Linked DNA regions of Homo sapiens: region 1 is linked to region 2. The links are contacts of gene promoters, found by promoter capture Hi-C in human tissues and cell types (Jung and others, 2019). All regions are on one chromosome and are shown on one strand. Each heading gives the region's core, a stretch centred on a gene start or on the middle of the fragment in contact. The rest is flanking DNA. Distances are from core to core; before and after follow the strand shown.

Region 1 (5,552 bases), core at 3,045-5,544, 580 kb before region 2:
TTTTTTAAATTGAAAAAGCTGGCCAAGCATGGTGGCTCAGGCCTGTAAACCCAGCCAATGTGGGAGGATCGCTTGAGCCCGGGAGTTCAGGAACAGCCTGGGCATCGTGGCGAGACCACATTGCTACAAAAAAAAAAAAAAAAAAAAAAAAAATTAGCCAGGCATGGTGGTGCACACCTGTGGTTCCATCTACTCAGGAAGCTGAGGTGGAGGATCGCTTGAGCCTGGGAGTTTGAGGCTGCAATAAGCTACGAATGCACCACTGACCTTCAGCCTGGGCAACACAGCTAGACTCTTGTCTCAGAGAGAGAGAGAGAGAGAGAGAGAGAGCACAATGAAAAAAATAAACCTGATCTTGCACAGAGCATGTAATAAAACCTGTGCGTTCTTGGCTATCTCTCTCTGGTCTCCTCCAGGGTGCTGAATAAGCTCTTCTCTCTCCATTCACCCAGGAGAACTCTCTTCTGCTGATTTTCTGTGGAGCTAGATCAGGCTGTGACTCAGAATCTCCCTCCACCTCCACCCTTTCCTATTTTCCCAACACCAGTGTCAATCTCAGATGTCAACAACCCCACGAGTGAGTTCCTCCTGTTGCCAATACATCCAGGTCCTGTTCTCCGCTGCTGTCTCTACCCAATCCCTTCCCTTCCTTCCTCCTGCCAATCCTGCTTTCCCTGTTTCTTGCTCCTCTGACCTCCTCCGCATTGCTTGACTGTCTCAGATACACTCTGGCCTCAGGGTCTTGGCACTTTCTGTTCTCCCTGCCTGGAAGGGTCTTCCTTAGTCAGATACTGAGGTCACCCATTGTGTTCAAGTTCCTTTAATTTATCTGAAATGAGTCTGGGCGTGGTGGCTCACGCCTGTAATCCCAGCACTTTGGGAAGCCAAGCCGGGTGGATCACTTGAGGCCAGGAGTTCGAGACCAGCCTGGCCAACATGGTGAAACCCCATCTCTACTAAAAATACAGAAATTAGCTGGGCGTGGTGGCACAAACCTGTGGTCCCAGCTACTCAGGAGGTCGAGGCAGGAGAATTGCTTGAACCTGGGAGGCGGAGGTTGCAGTGAGCCAAGATCGTGCCACTGTACTCTAGCCTGGGTGACAGAGTGAGACTCTGTCTCAAAAAAAAAAAAAAAAAAAGAAAAAGATAATTTATCTGAAATTATCTGAAATGCACCACCCTGCCCCCATCATTGACTCTCCTGTTGCTGTAGTTTTCTCTGCAGCACTTACCAGTGCTTGAGAAAACCACCCACTCATTTATCTTGCTTTCAGTTTCTCTTGCTTTCAGTCTGTCTTCAGTTAATGAAAGCTTTTTTTTTCTTTCTTTTTTCTTTTTCTAAAACAGAGTCACCCAGGCTGGAGACCAGTGATGCGATCACGGCTCACTGCAGACTCGACCTTCTGGGCTCAGGGGATCCTCCCACACCCCTTGGCCTCCTGGGGATTGAGACTACAGGCACACACCACCACACCCAGCTAATTTTTGTATTTTTTGTAGAGAGAGGGATTTGTCACCTTGTCCAGGCTGCTCTTGAACTCCTGAGTTCAAGCAATCCTCCCAACTCAGCCCCTCAAAGTGCTGGGATTACAGGTGTGAACCACTGCCCCTGGCCTGTTTATTTAAAAAATTAACATTCATTCTCAGTTTATTGGCTAAGTTTAGAAGTAGTATCAGAATGTTTAAGAGAACTTACTGTTCTCCTTTTATTTGTATGTTTGCATTGTAGATTTTTAATAACTGATAAGGACTTCTCAAGGTGTTTGCTTGGTGGAGACATTTAAAAAGATTAAAGAATAGGCCAGGTGCAGTGGCTCATGCCTGTAATCCCAGCACTTTGGGAGGCCGAGGCGGGTGGATCAAGAGGTCAGGAGATCGAGACCATCCTGGCTAACATGGTGAAACCCCATCTCTACTATAAATACAAAAAATTACCTGGGTGTGGTGGCACGTGCCTGTAGTCCCAGCTACTCAGGAGGCTGAGGCAGGAGAATCGCTTGAACCCGGGAGGCAGAGGTTGCAGTGAGCTGAGATCGCACCATTGCACTCTAGCCTGGGTGGTAGAGCAAGACTCTGTCTCAAAAAATAATAATAATAAATTAAAAGATTAAAGAATAAGCTGGCACAGTGGCTCACACCTGTCATCCCAACACTTTTTGTAGAGACCTCATCTCTTAAAAATAAAATTAGCTGGGCGTGGTTGTGTGCACCTGTAGCCCAGCTACTCAGGAGGCTGAGGTGGGAGCATTGCTCAGGAGGTCGAGGCTGCAGTGAGCCATGATTGCACCACTGCACTCCAGTCTGGGTGACAGAGCTGATACACTGTCTCTAAAAAATAATAATAATTGACCGGGCGCAGTGGCTCACGCCTGTAATCCCATCACTTTGGGAGGCCGAGGCGGGCGGATCACGAGGTCAGGAGATCGAGAGCAACATGGCTAACACGGTGAAACCCCGTCTCTACTAAAAATACAAAAAAATTAGCTGGGCGTGGTGGTGGGCGCCTGTAGTCCCAGCTACTCGGGAGGCTGAGGCAGGAGAATGGCATGAACCTGGGAGGTGGAGCTTGCAGTGAGCCAAGATCGCGCCACTGCACTCCATCCGGCTTGGGTGACAGAGCGAGACTCCATCTCAAAAAAAAAATTAATAATAATAATTATTATTATAGTAGTAAAAGAGTATAGAATAAAATGCATCACACTTATAAAATGTAAAATGTTAATTTCAATCCACTAAACTTATAAACGGACCCAAATATGCATCCAATGACCTCTTAAAGTGATATTTCTTTTTCTTTTTGTTGAGATGGAGTCTCACTCACTCTGTCACCCAAGCTGGAGCGCAGTGGTGTGATCTTCAGCTCGTCCCAACCTCCGTCTCCCAGGTTCAAGCGATTCTCCTGACCTCAAGTGATCCGTCTGCCTTGGCATCCCAAAGTGCTGGGATTACAGGCCTGAGGCCAGGCCCTGAATTAATTTTTTGATGTTTCACTTTGCCAGGTGTATAAGTAACATGTTAGTTGTGATTGTAACTAAATAAAGGCTTAAGGGAAACCGTGTTTCTAAATTTCTAAATTGACTACACATTTACAAAGGAACCCACAAAGATGGATTTTTGGGCCGGGCGCAGTGGCTCACGCCTGTAATCCCAGCACTTTGGGAGGCTGAGGCAGACAGATTGCCTGAGTTCAGGAGTTCAAGATCAGCCTAGGCAACAAGGTGAAACCCTTTCTCTACTAAAATACAAAAAAATTAGCTGGGCATGGCAGCGAGCACCTGTAATCCCAGCTACTTGGGAGGCTGAGGCCGGAGAATTGCTTGAACCAGGGAGGCAGAGGTTGCAGTGAGTCGAGATCACACCACCGCACTCCAGCCTGGGCAACACAGTGAGACTCGATCTTAAAAAAAAAAAAAAAAGATGGACTTTTTCGGGGCCCCAAGGCTTCAAAATTCAAAATGCTGTCATGAGTTAGTTTGATTTGAGGAACCAAAAATTGGCTTTTGTGGCTGGAGCAGAGTGAGCAAGGGGGAAGTGAATCCGGAAGGTTGAGTCTGCAAGGTCAAGGGCAAGGAACAGAGAAGGGTGTGGGTGGGGCAGGTTGCGTGTGCTCTTGGGGGCTGCAGGGAAGGGGGCTTTTATCTGGGTAAGGTGGGAGCCACAGAGGGTTCTGATCAGAGGGACAGATCTGACTTAGATTTTGCATGATGTCCCCCAGCTGTGGGCTGCGGGGCATGGGCTGCTGAATAGGTGGTTTAGGTGGGCAAAGATGGGTCATGGTGCCCCCTACCCTTTAAAAATTAAAAGACAGGGCCAGGAGCAGTGGCTCACGCCTGTAATCCCAGCACTTTGGGAGGCTGAGGTGGGCGGATCACCTGAGGTCAGGTGTTTGAGACCAGCCTGACCAACAAGGTGAAACCCCATCTCTACTAAAAATACAAAAAAAATTAGCTGGGCGTGGTGGCAGCCACCTGTAATCCCAGCTACTCGGGAGGCTGAGGCAGGAGAATCGCTTGAACCCGGGAAGCAGAGGTTGCAGTGAGCCAAGATCGTGCCACTGCACTCCAGCCTGGGCGACAAGAGCAAGACTGTCTCAAATAATAATAATAGGCCGGGTGTGGTGGCTCACACCTGTAATCCCAGCACTTTGGGAGGTTGAGGTGGGTGGATCACTGGAGCCCAGGAGTTTGAGACAAGCCTGGGTGACACAGTGAGACCCCATCTAAATTATTATTATTATTATTATTTGAGACAGAGTCTTGCTCCATCACCCAGGCTGGAGTGCAGTGGCGCGATCTTGGCTCACTGCAAGCTCCGCCTCCCGGGTTCACGCCATTCTCCTGCCTCAGCCTCCCAAGTAGCTGGGACTACAGGTGCCCGCCACCACGCCCAGCTAATTTTTTGTATTTTTTAGTAGAGACGGGGTTTCACCATGTTAGTAAGGATGGTCTGGATCTCCTGACCTTGTGATCCGCCTGCCTTGGCCTCCCAAGGTGCTGGGATTACAGGCGTGAGCCACCATGCCCAGCCTGAATTTTTTTTCTTAAAGATTAAAAAGGCAGAGCCTCTCTGCTCCTCCCATTTGACAGACAGCCACATCTTTTCATGCAGTGAAAAAGGCATGTCCCCGAGACACCGTGGTGAAAGTGAAGACAGGAGTAAATGGATTTGGCCATATTGGGTGCCTGGTCACCAGGGCACCAGAGCTGCTTTTAACTCTGGCAGAATGGATGTTGTCACCTCAATGACCCCTTCATTGACCTCAACTACATGGTCTACATGTTCCAATATGATTCTACCCACGGCAAGTTCCGCGGCACCATCAAAGCTGAGAAGTGGGCTGGGTGTGGTGGCTCATGCTTGTAATCTCAGCTACTTAGGAGGTTGAGGTGGGAGGATCACTTGAGACCAGGAGTTCAGGACCAGCCTAGGCAACATAGGGAGATCCTCTCTCTCTTAAAAAAAAAAAAAAAGAAAAGAAAAGACTGAGAAAGAGAAGGGAAGCTTGTCATCAATAGGAAATGGGAATCTCATCCCCATCTTCTAGAAGCCAGATCCCAGCAAAATCAAATTGGGTGACGATGCTGGCACTGGTTATGTCATGGAGTCCACCAGCAGCATCTTCACGACCATGGGGAAGGCTGGGGCTCGCTTAGGATGGGCAGCCAAAGGGATCACCATCTCTGCCCCCTCTGCCCATGCCCCCATGTTTGTGATGGACATGAACCATGAGAGATACAAAAACCTCATGATCGTCAGCAATGCCTCCTGCACCACCAACTGCTTACCCTCCGGCCAAGGTCATCCGTGACAACGTTTTTTTTTGGTTTGGTTTGGTTTTCTTTCTTTCTTTTTTCTTTTTTTGTTTTAAATAGGGATGGAGGCCAGGTGCAGTGACTCATGCCTGTAATCCCAACACTTTGGGAAGCTGCGGTTGGAGGATCACTTGAGCCTAGGAGTTCAAGACCAGCCTGGCCAACATAGCAAGACTCTGTCTCTACAAAAAGTTTAAAAAAATTATCCAGGCATGGTGGGGTGTATCTGTAGTCCCAGCT
Region 2 (6,319 bases), core at 3,202-5,701:
AAATATTGCTGCCGGCTGGGCGCGGTGGCTCACGCCTGTAATCCCAGCACTTTGGGAGGCCGAGGCGGGCGGATCACGAAGTCAGGAGTTCGAGACCAGCCTGACCAACATGGTGAAACCCCGTCTCTACTAAAAATACAAAAATTAGCCGGGCGTGGTGGCACACGCCTGTAATCCCAGCTACTCAGGAGGCCGAGGCAGGAGAATCGCTTGAACCCGGGAGATGGAGGTTGCAGTGAACTGAGATTGTGCCACTGAACTCCAGCTGGGCGACAGAGCGAGACTCCGTTTCAAAAAAAAAAAAACATATATATATATATATATATATATATATATATATATATATACACACACACACTTATATATGTGTTTGTATATATACACATATATGTGTATATATACAAACACATATATAAGTATATATATACACATATATGTATATATATGTGTATATATATAGCTGCCATATAATTCCAGCTTTTCCATGCACTTAGTTTTATTCTGTTGTTGGCTTGTTGTTTTCTTGAGTGAAAATGAGTAGACTGAGAGATAAAGTATGAAAAATCTTTGGCTATCCCTCATCCCAAATTTATAATCTCTGACGACATCAGGCCTCTCTCCTCTTCCAGTGTTGGCCTGACTAGACCTCAAGGCAGACAACCTCCCCACCTCAAACCCCCTCCCCCCACCCCCACCTCCCCTGAAAGAAGGGCCCACTGAGTACAGGAAGACAACAGTGTCAGCTCTGGAAAGCCTGAAACATATTCTGAAATACCAGTATCCCCAGGGTGGGGGCCAGGCTGCAGTGCAAGGAGGAAATCCGGCTGTGGCTAGAATCTATATTTTTCTTTTCTTTTCTTTTCTTTTTTTTTTTTTTCGAGACAGGGTGTTACTCTGTCACCTAGGCTGGAGTGCAGTGCGCTGATCATAGCTAACTGCAGCCTCTACCTTCAAGGTTCAAGCAATCCTCTTTACTCAGCCTGCTAAGTAGCTGGGACTATAGTTGCAGGGCCACCAGGCTGGGCTAATTTTTTTTTTTTTTCTTTTTTTTTTAGAGATGAGGTCTCACTACGTTGCTCAAGCTGGTCTTGAACTCCTGGCCTCAAGCAGTTCTCCTTTCCAGCCCTCCCCGAGTCCTGGGATTGTATAGGTGTGAGCCACATGTCGGGCCTAGAACCTTTCATTCAAGCTCCACTCAGCCAGGTGTTAAATTCTCCTCTCACTCCGCCTCCCAGAAGGCGGGGCCCGTGGCACTGTCCAATCAGGAGGGGCGGGGGGGTGTGGCTGTGCAAATTGTCCAATCAGGCGCGGCTCTGGGAGGAGGCCGCGAAGCTCCATAAAACTGCGAGGCGTTCCTTTCACCCGCCCACAGTGGGTGTCAGGTCTATGCTGCTCTGAGAAGCACCAGAGGTGGCTTCGCTGCAGCTTCTTTCCAGCTGTGACTTGCAATGAACACGAAAGACATAAGGAGAACCATAGACACCTCAGAAGCCAGGAAATGGTGAGTGCTGGGGGGATGTCCCGAGACTGTGGAGCAAGGTGCTGGACAGGAACCTGCTGTGACGGGACCCAGGCCTGTCCGGGGCGACTTCGGGACCGGTGGACTGGAGTCCCCCTAGCGCAGCCACCGCGCCCGATTTAAGAGAGAATTTTCAATGGCTAAACTGCACATGTACATCTCCTGACACAGAGCACCTGGTGACAACCATCAACTGTGAAGGTCAGGGAGCTGCTGAAGCAGAAGAGAGTCCATATTTCATTAGTTTTTTTTTTTTTTTTTGGAGACGGAGTCTCGCTCTGTCGCCCAGGCTGGAGTGCAGTGGCGCGATCTCAACTCACTGCAACCTCTGCCTCTGGGGTTCAAGCAATTCTCCTGTCTCAGCCTCCCGAGTAGCTGGGACTACAGGCGCACACTGCCACGCCCAGCTAATTTTTTGTATTTTAGTAGAGACAGAGTTTCACCGTGTTGCTCTTGTTGCCCAGGCTGGAGTGCAATGGTGTGATCTCAGCTCACGGCAACTTCCGCCTCCCAGGTTCAAGCGATTCTCCTGCCTCAGCCTCCTGAGTAGCTGGGATTACAGGCACGCGCCACCACGCCTGGCTAATTTTGTACTTTTAGAGACGAGGTTTCTCCATGTTGGTCAGGCTGGTCTCGAACTCCTAACCTTAGGTGATCCGCCCGCCTCGCCCTCCCAAAGTGCTGAGATTACAGGCGTGAGCCACCGCGCCCGACCTTCATTAGTGGTTTTATATAACAGTTTGTTAATGTCGAAATAATAGTTTGCTGGCTTCTTCATTTTATCAAAGGAATAATTATTTGCCAGTTTTAAAATCCACTTAAAACTGTCTTGAAATTTTTCTCTTCTACTTTACGGTAAACACAGGAGGAAAGCAGGGACTCTGCTGGATTCTCTTTCGAACACTGGGATTGAGGGTGTTTGCCTCGTGGAACTGAACAATGTGGGTGAAAAGCAGGTGGAAAACTTGCAGGGGGCAGCATAGCCTGAGGCCGGTGATCCACACTGAGACTAATCTGGAGCCTGCAAAGGGAGGGAAAGGGAGCTCCCCCGATTGCTTCCTGGGCAGCCTGCCTTCCCCTGTAGGTAGTCTCCAGCTGCTCCGAACAGCTCCAGCTCCAGCTCCAGGAGTGTGGATTCTGAGAAGCTGCAGAGCCCTGGAAAGCAGGAACTTCACAGGCAAATGCACGTGCGGGTTTCTCTCCTTTCTGAGGTTGTACCTCTAGTTTCCCAAGGTAGTTTTCCGGAAAACTTTTTGTTTTTTGAGACGGAGTCTTGCTCTGTCACCCAGGCTGGAGTGCAGTGGCGCGATCTCGGCTCACTGGAACCTCTACCTCCCGGGTTCAAGCGATTCTTGTGCCTCAGCCTCCCCAGAAGCTGGGATTATAGGCGCCCGGCTAATTTTTGTAATTTTAGTAGAGACGGGGTTTCGCCATCTTGGCCAGGCTGGTTTTGAACTCCTGACCTCAAGTGATCCGCCCGCCTCGGCCTCTCAAAGTGTTGGGGATTACAGGCATGAACCACTGTGCCCGGCCTTGATTTTTCTATGTATAGAGTTGCTGCAGTCAGGCTGTAATTTGTATATATGAAGAAAATATGTAAAGATCATATTTAGAGACTCATTTAGGTAGCGTTCCAGAGAAATGGTTTATGAGCTAGAGAGGTTGGAATTTCAAGGGGCCTAAATTGACCACAGGTGAGAGTTTTCTGCTGGTGTAAATTATTAAGGTATTGAAGGAGGGAGCGTTCCCACATTGTGATGCTGTGACAGGAGGGCATGTTGAGCTCCCAGAGTTAAATCCTTAGGTTTCCTGCCTCATCATCAGGGTCTAATGTACTCTGTGGCTCCACTTCAGCAGTCACTGACTCTTAAGCTTGGGAATATGTTCTACCTTCTGAATTCATCTTTTCCTTTTTAAATGTTCTGAAGTGCCCTGCTTATCTGAGCTAGTTCAAATTTTCGCTTTACTTCCCTTTTGATTTCTTTACAGATTACGGAAATAGAACTTGTTTTTCCATGTATTTAATAATTTTATTCACTTGTTGGCAGTTTTTTATTTTCTTGGGTGAAAATGAGTAGATTGATTTGGGAGGCGAAAGTGGGAGGTTCACTTGAGGCTAGGAGTTCAAGACCAGCCTGGACAACAAACGAAATCCCGTCTCTACAAAAAATTAAAGAATTTGCCGGGCTTGGTGGCATGTACCTGTAGTCTCTACTACTCAGGGGACTGAAGCGGAAGGTTCGCTTGAACCCAGGAGATGGAGGCTGCAGTGAGCTATGATCATGCCATTGCACTCTAACCTGGGTGGCAGAGCTAGACCCTGTCTCAAATAAATAAATAAAGTAATAAATAAGTAAATAAAGTAATAAATAAGTAAATAAAGTAAAAAATAGAGAGAGATAAAGAGGTATGGTATGAGAAAGCCTTGGGCACGCTTCCCATATCCTCATCCCAAATTTCCGATCCCTGGGAATATCACGCCCTTTCTTCTGTTCCAGTCCTGCCTGGAACTCCCTGCGCACACCTGTGACTCCTCATGCAAGAGGTAGATGAAGAAATGACCCACTGAGTACAGGAAGTATCTCCTTTGGTAAACCCGGATTAAGTTCTGCTAAAATGCAAGTATCTCCCATCTCCCCATCCCCCGCAGACCAAGTACAGTGAAGGGGACGAGGGGAAGAAGTCCACCCTGCGTTTGAGGGCTGGGGCCAAGACCCCTCATTCCCGCTTCACTCATCTATGCTTCACATCTCCTGTCATTCACATCTGTCAAGATGCAGGGGGCAGAGCCCGAAGCTGTACCCAATCAGGGGCACCGGGGAGGAGCTCTGCGATCGGTCCAATCAGGCGCGCCGTCGGGGACGCAGCTGCAGACGTTCAACCTTCTCGCGGGATTTTCATTTCTCGCGTCTGCCGTACTTGGTTTCGCTTCGCTAGTCCCAGAGGCCCAGAGTGGCTCGCCTGGAGTCTCTGTGGCGCGGTTTCCTGTACCTGCCTTGGGATCCGGAGGGAGGAAGCTGGGACACCCGGGAGTCAGGAAATGGTGAGTGTGTCGGGCCCTGCGTCCCGAGACAGGGAGGAGGGGCTGGTTGGACGACCGGAACTGGCTGTGGCGCGGCCCGGGCCTTCCCGTGGGCGACTCTGGGTCTGCGTACCGAGTCCCTCTGGCGCAGCTCAGCCCTTGGTACCCTCGGCCTCAGGGTGGGGCTGGGCCGGCAGCCGGGACCCCGGGCGTCCTCGTCCCGCCCTGTGCCGCGATTGCGGCCCCGGCCCCGAAGACCCAAGTCTCTTCAGATTGTGCGGGGCCCACGCGAGGGTCATGGGGTGGGGGAAATCCTGACTTGTGCGTGGAAGGAGCTGTGGTGTATGAGGTTCCCAGTTCCTTTTCTCTCCACAGAGGACACCCGTTTTTCCCTGAGTTTTCTAAGTGTATGGGATGCAGGGTCCCAAATCCTCACTCTGTCCCCCAGCCTGCTGTTTCCAGGGCTTGCAGTAAATCCCCAAATTTCCTGTTCTCTTTTCGCTTTTCCAAACGCCAACCTCTCCCCTTCCATTCACGACATTAGCAACCGTTTCTCCTATATTCTACATTTCAGATATTGTGCTTTCATTGTTTATTTTTCAACAAAGCAATGGATTACTCTTTCATCAAGGTTTGTTTTCTGTTCATAGCCTTGACACTCCGCTGTAAGAAACCTTTGTGCTTGTCCTTTTGTCTCCTCTATGCACAGATACCTCATCAGAATGTCTTTGAGTTGAGGTTCCCCTTTGGAATCTTTACAGGGTGATATGCCTTCAGCGCCCCCTCCTATTTATTTTTTCCTGGTTCTGGGTTTCAAAACTGTCTGGGGCTGACTCAAGCTGCCCACAGCTGCCAAGTCTCTTGGAGGATCTAGTGAATATTGGGTCTTGGGTGAGTCTTCCTAGAGGACAGTTGAAATAGAAGGCTGGGAGAATGCCCTGGGACTAGGATAAATCTAGCATACCCTGCTTCTAAATAGCCAACCTCTGGGGGCACTCAGCTTTTCCTCCCCCAACCCCAGTTTCCATCCTTTGGAGACACACTGGTGGTCAGCCAATCAGATGCTGGTATTGAGGATTGAGAAAAGAAAATTTTTTGTGTGTTTTGAAAGAGTCTCGCTCTGTCGCCTAGGCTGGAGTGCAGTGACGTGATCTCGGCTCACTGCAACCTCCATCTTCTGGGTTCAAGCGATTCTCCTGCCTCAGCCTCCCCTGTAGTTGGGACCACAGTTTTGCGCCACCACTCCCAGATAACTTTTTTTTTTTTTTTTTTTTTTTGAGACGGAGTCTCTCTGTCGCCCAAGCTGGAGTGCAGTGGCGTGATGTCGGCTCACTGCAACCTCTGCCTCCCGGATTCAAGCGATTCTCCTGCCTCAGCCTCCCCAGTACCTGGGACTACAGGCGCATGCCACCACGCCCGGCTAATTTTTTGTGTTTTTAGTAGAGACGGAGTTTCACCTTGTTAGCCAGGATGGTCTTGATCTCCTGACCTCGCGATCCGCCTGCCTTGGCCTCCCAGAGTGCTGGGATTACAGGCGTAACTGTACCCGGCCTCAAAAAAATAATTTTCGTCTGATAAATGTGGGTCCTTTTAAATGAACGGGCACATAGAGACATTCAAGTGATACAGCAATCACCTTCTAACTCCCTGAAGCTATGAATTCATCTTTTGAAACTGCTATTGCCACAAGTAGGTATAATCAACTTACTAATGCAACACGGGACCCTGGAACCCACACCCTATAGCTTAACAGTGCATAGCCACGCGCTTATCAATGT

Evidence for each region. The method cuts DNA at HindIII sites, captures the fragments that hold promoters and counts their contacts. A contact is called where the count stands out against the background at its distance.
Region 1: a contact is called between a fragment that was not itself captured here and the fragment with the promoter of ZNF136 in region 2, in 1 of the 25 tissues and cell types used here (small bowel).

The regions. Positions count from the first base shown.
Region 1 is chr19:11,580,612-11,586,163 of GRCh38, forward strand. It overlaps LOC124904638 (a long non-coding RNA gene), which reads left to right. Exons shown (of 2, transcript XR_007067140.1): 2 at 2,806-3,053. It also overlaps the pseudogene GAPDHP76. Among named protein-coding and RNA genes, the nearest start is that of ACP5, 5.7 kb to the left of the region's middle. RefSeq lists enhancers at 1,173-1,372, 3,274-3,413, 3,424-3,483 and a silencer at 1,508-1,673. The HindIII fragment of the contact is 7,524 bases long and covers 533-5,552 here.
Region 2 is chr19:12,158,645-12,164,963 of GRCh38, forward strand. It overlaps ZNF136 (zinc finger protein 136), which reads left to right and starts at 4,452. Exons shown (of 4, transcript NM_003437.5): 1 at 4,452-4,562. The coding sequence starts at 4,560. RefSeq lists enhancers at 4,293-4,382, 4,393-4,552. The HindIII fragment of the contact is 18,447 bases long and covers 1,638-6,319 here.